2 separate regions of the Homo sapiens genome follow, and region 2 is linked to region 1. The links are contacts of gene promoters, found by promoter capture Hi-C in blood cells and fetal thymus (Javierre and others, 2016). All regions are on one chromosome and are shown on one strand. Each heading gives the region's core, a stretch centred on a gene start or on the middle of the fragment in contact. The rest is flanking DNA. Distances are from core to core; before and after follow the strand shown. Region 1 holds the start of RMDN2-AS1 (RMDN2 antisense RNA 1). Region 2 overlaps LINC02613 (long intergenic non-protein coding RNA 2613).

Evidence for each region. Contacts are between HindIII fragments. The CHiCAGO score rates a contact against its expected background, and 5 or more counts as called.
Region 2: a contact is called between a fragment that was not itself captured here and the fragment with the promoter of RMDN2-AS1 in region 1, in 2 of 17 cell types (M2 macrophages and M1 macrophages). The highest score is 5.3, in M2 macrophages.

Annotation. Positions count from the first base shown.
Region 1 is chr2:38,035,084-38,037,783 of GRCh38, reverse strand. It overlaps RMDN2-AS1 (RMDN2 antisense RNA 1), which reads left to right and starts at 1,443. Exons shown (of 4, transcript NR_102712.1): 1 at 1,443-1,634. It also overlaps a transcript of RMDN2 not described here. The HindIII fragment of the contact is 2,287 bases long and covers 626-2,700 here.
Region 2 is chr2:38,503,529-38,506,228 of GRCh38, reverse strand. All of the region lies in intron 1 of LINC02613 (long intergenic non-protein coding RNA 2613), which reads left to right. Among named protein-coding and RNA genes, the nearest start is that of LINC02613, 11 kb to the left of the region's middle. The HindIII fragment of the contact is 2,436 bases long and covers 48-2,483 here.

The DNA of each region.
Region 1 (2,700 bases), core at 194-2,693:
AAGCTCACGCAGTATCCTTTATAAGCAGTTTGTAGGTCTCCTTCCTTGAATTTCTTTCAAGCTCCCAATAGCCAACGGGAAGCCGAACACACTTTCACACTAAAAATGGGAATTCAGGGAAGTATCATCAGGTTCTGAACTATGTTTTAAGACTCAAGTCAAACACCAAAACTGAGTCACCACCTAATGTGTGTGCAGCACGTGTTAGGGGCAGTTTGCTATGTGATGACTTGAACGACAGTTTCTCTCTCCTGGGACTTTCATAAAATTCCTTTGGTGTTGCCACACACTTCTGGGATTCTCCACAATGAGCCCATTGCTGAGCCTGTCTCTGCAGATGTTTATTAAACAAGCAGAATTTAGGGGAATAGTCAGCAAGTCTTCACCAAGTTCTTCTATGTGGGCAGCTTTTGTGGTGTGGCCAGGGTATGAGGATAAAGAGCAACTTGGAAAAGTCTGGGGAGAATTTAAGTAGCCTGAAGAGTCTCTGTCCCTCAGGGAGGAAAGCTGAGAAATCGTTTCCATATTTATGTGTCAATTGCTTTATGTCCATTTATTTGATCTTCCTTACAAAATCTTGCATAGAAAATTTCATCCTCATTTTACAGATGAGGAAACTGAAGCTTAGAGAGCTTAGGTCACTTACCCAAGTTCATCCAGGTAGCAAAGTGTCAGGTCTGGATTTAAATCAGGTTGAGTCCAGTACCTTTTTCTTTTTTATATCACGCTGCCTTTCCCTAGAAGCCAAAATTTCTAGGAAATAAATGAACTGCAATGACAAAGCAGCACATTTTCCCATGTTCTTTGCTCTTGATCCCTACCTACTCTTTTCCCGGAAATAGACAATAAAGCCACCAGGATACCTGAGACAGCCTTGGTCATCTTTGTACCGTAGCCAGCACCATGGATTTTTGCCTAGTTACTTTCCCATCAGATTTTAACAGAAAGAACACTGTATTTGCCAGCTCAGTACAGCATATCTCTGGCTCTGTTTTCTCCCCAGCAGGAATCCGAGGGTCTGTCTCTGTATGTGTTATCATCAGACTGGTAAAGAGTTACATGTGTCAGCACAGAAGAAAAGAGCTTTGATGTGAGTTCAGCATGTAAGAAAGCCTTCATTGCTGTCATGCTTTCAACAGGTTCCCCACGACCCACCACTGCCTGCCAAGATGAATGTAAATGAAGCAGAAGTCTCACAGGGTAAATTCAGCTTCCCACGACCTGCAGTTGGACAGGGTGGCAAGGAGATGATGATAATTCCATGGCTCCCAGCTTAATTTCTCTTGGGGAGGGGTATGTGGACTCTTGCTATCCTGGAGTCCATATCATGCAGGACTCCGGAACATAAAAGGCAACAACAGTGAAGTGAGTGCCTGTTACAAACAAGGCTCAACTCAAAGCTAACAATTCTTCTTTATTAGGATACCACTGATCAGAGCTGCAAAGTGTACTCACATCTGTCATTTCGTGTCATTCTTACATAAATCCTGTAGCTGGGCACAGTAGGAAGAAGCATTCTCATCATGGCCACTTAGCTTGCTCGAGATTACACAGAACCATGCCTCTGGTTTCCTGGTACAGTGCTCCGGCAGGTGACGGATGCTCCTGGGTGACATATCACGGATCTCTCTGAGGTGAGATCTTCATGATTCTATATCATAGGCATCTCTTTATCTTCAAGTTGGGCAACATCAGCAGGGTTCCCATGAGTATGTGCCCAGCGAGGCTATTTAGTTCCTCTTATCTTTTTTTTTTTCTACTTGCCCTCGTTTTTCCTGAGATTTTATTTCCTTCCTAGCTGGCATACCTTTCCCTGCTGTGGTATTCAGACCTAAATAGTGTGTGCACCTATTACCTCTGCAGAGTAATTACTGTTTGGTACCATGGTAGAGTTTCTGTGTCCAGATACGGTTGTGAATGCTTGGAATGTAACATTGGGAAAGACAGAACTATTGCTTGTAAGTGGATTTGTGGACATCATGGTGCTATGAGAAAACTAAGTTGAAGATGCTCCTGCATCTTGCTGGTTAAACTAGATATAAACCAGTTGCTTAATAATTCATAGCCTATCCTATCTGTTTCCCACCCTCCTTATCTTCCAGGGACTCATTTATTGAATAACTCATTTTACATGCCTCTTTTATCATATACATTTTTATGTGTATTAGGATGTATTTATGGACTTTATATTCTATTTCACTGATTTGTCTATTCATTCATATTTCTTTGAGTATGATAGCTTTATGCATTTTTTCTTATCTGGTAGGTATTGTTGCCCCTCATTGCTTGACTTCTTCAGTATTTTCACAACTACTCTTACTTGTTTGATTTTCCATTTGAACCTCAGAACATAAAAAGAATCTTGTTGGTATTTGTATTGGAATTTTATCAAATTTGTAGATTAATTGAAGGATATTGGATAATTTTAGGATGCTGTCTTCCTAATCAAAATATAGTGTGTCTTTTTATTTGTTCAAACTTTTGGGGTTCCTTCAATTTCTGCTTGCCTATCAGACATGATTCTTATATTTATTCCTAGATATTTGATCTTGTTTTACTCAGGGTAAATGAGGCATTACCTTCCAGTACACCTTCTAACTGGCTGCCATCTGTATTTGTCATGGCTACTGATTTCTATATATTTATTCTTTTATTGTTGAAGAATGTTTTGTAGTTCGTTCTTTCAGGTTTTTCACACGT
Region 2 (2,700 bases), core at 16-2,515, 470 kb before region 1:
CAGAGACCCTGTCTCAAACAAACAAACAAACAAAAAAAGGTAAAGCTTCTTTTCCTCAAAATATGCCATAAAGTAAAATAAAAAACAGACAAACACAAACTGGGAAAAGATATTTGCAATGTGGCAGTCAGGGGAGTGTGCTGTTCGGCTCCTTTCAACAGAGACACACTTATGAGGTGTGATTGGCTGACAGCCTGGAGTTGCCTCATCTTCAGGATCCACCACTGTGTTCTAGCAGAGGCTCTGCTAGCTCTGACCGATCCTAGCCAATGTCTGAGTACGGAGGGAGTACCAGAGTTGAGTCATTCCTGCTCAGTGTGGGACTTCTTTAAAAGGCAAACTTTCTTCTGAGGCTCCCCATTAGCCTGGCTGACTTTCTCAGAGCTGCCCTGCAGATGGAGGCTTTTCCCACCCAATTCTCTTTCCTCTTCTTCCCTTTCACAGGCATAAAGACCTGCACTGGGGTCTGAAAACTCTCCCCAACCATGCCTGCTCTTTTCCCCATTATCCTGCGCAGGTATTACCCCCCATTATTGTCTTGCACTTCCAATTTTGTTTTGATTTCTGCTTCTTGGAAGACTTGAATTAATATAGCCTATAAAGAACAAAAGACTAGTATCCAAGCTGGGCATGGTGGCTCACGCCGTAATCCTAGAGCTTTGGGAGGCTGAGGTGGGAGGATTGCTTAAGGCCAGGAGTTTGAGACCAGCCTGGGCCAAATAGCAACACCTCATCTCTACAAAACAAAAAAAGGACTATTATTCAGAATGTATATGATTTGGAATCATATGCATTCTATAGGATTCAAATCATATAGACAAATTTATATACAATCCAAACTGTATATTGATTAGAAAAAGATAAATGGCTCAATAAGAAATTAGGCAAAAGATATGAACAGACAATTCACAGAAGATGAAATCTAAAAGGCCAATAAATACATGAAAAGATGCCAATCTCAGTAGTAGCCGGGGAAATGTAAATTAAAGCAAAGCAAGGTACCATTTTATATCTCTAAGATTGGTAAAAAAACAACCATTTGCCAAAGTATTTGAGAAGATACAGAGCAACATGTACACTGTGGGCGGAAGTATAAATTGATGCAACCATTTTGGATAGTAATTTAGTAATTACTTATCTAGTAAAGATGTGGAAGTACTTAACCATCAATTCCACTTAAGAGATTCTCCCATGTGTACATAAGATATGCAGAAGAATATATTATAGAATTATGTGAAAGAAGAAAAAACCCAGAACAACCTAAATATTCACTAAGAGAAAAACAAATAAGTAAATATCACATAACTGTGAAAAGAAACCAAAACAAAAATTTCCAGGAAATTTTTGAAAAGGAAGTGAAAAGTTGACTTTGGCTGTGAAAGTCCTATAATATTTTTTAAATTTTTTTTTAAAGTAAAAAGAGAGGAAGAGAGAGAAAGAGATACTTGTTTATCTTCTAGTCTACAGAAACTAAATTAACAAGTACTTTTGATATGATTTGTATTGGCCACACTAACTCCTGAAGGAGACAAACTATGATCTTGTCAATCCTTCATCTATCAAAACAGATGGGGAAGAGTCGTTTGCTAACAATTTATTTTCTTTTCTTTCTTTCTTTCTTTTTTTTCTCATCAGTCTTGACAACTGTTGAAGGTGCTAGAAGTTTGGTGGTGCTGTCTTAAATGTCTGGCCTGAGTGGGCCTGGCATTCAGAAATACAGATGAGAAGGGGGAAGGGGAGGTGGGTTACGGCGGGTGGAGCAGGAAGGAATGTGGGCCCCCCTAGTGTGTGTCCCTGCTGGGGAACTGCCTCGCCACCCAGGCTTCATCTAGCATAAGGCTGCCAGCCACCTGCTGCCTCATGTGTGCTGTCCTGGAATTCTTATTACATCTCAGAAATCCTGCTCTGGCCAGTGATGAAATTACAGACAGCAGAGTCCAGCCTTGCCTATGTGACCTGAGAGGGGAAACCTCTCTTCTGGATCCCAGTTTTGGAAAATCTTCCAGGCCTCTCTGCCAGGGCCTTGTCCTCAGTTGTCTTCCTGATCTGGGACCAACTGAGAAGCCCTGAACTGTTTACTGCCCCCTCCTTTCCCCCTGGAATGCATCTATTGACTGTCACCACACCCTCCCATCAAGCCAGCAACAGGTAATAAGCATCAATAAAGAGCAAGACCTGGGGCTGGCATTGAACACAAGCAACTAGATCAGATCTGGCTTCCAAAGAGGTTGAATGAAACGAAGTGTTATTTTATTTTTTAAATCTTATTCAGAAAATATTTATTGAACCGTACAATGTACTTGGGGGGAAACATGGAAAAAGATTCATACCTTGTTCTCAGTGTTGAAAGCTCAGAGCAGAAGATAGACAAGAGAATGGATGATGACTTTTGGATGAGATAAGGGCTAGGACAGGTAAGAGCAAGGTACAATGGCACCTACTGGAGACCCCAGGAGACCTAAACCTGAGAGCTGGGGAAAGCTTCCTGGGGAAATGACATCTCAACTGAGACCTGAAGGAACAGGACTTAGCCAGGTGCTCTGTGTAGGGGTTGAGGCAGAGTGGGGGTGACTGTTAGGAAATAGAGATTGAAATTATAGACAGAGCAAATAGCAAGGGCAAAAGGAAAGAGCAAGGCCAAGAATGATTTGGAGGGGGAAATACTGGAGTCAAGGAAACTAGGTAAGAGATTGGGAATGA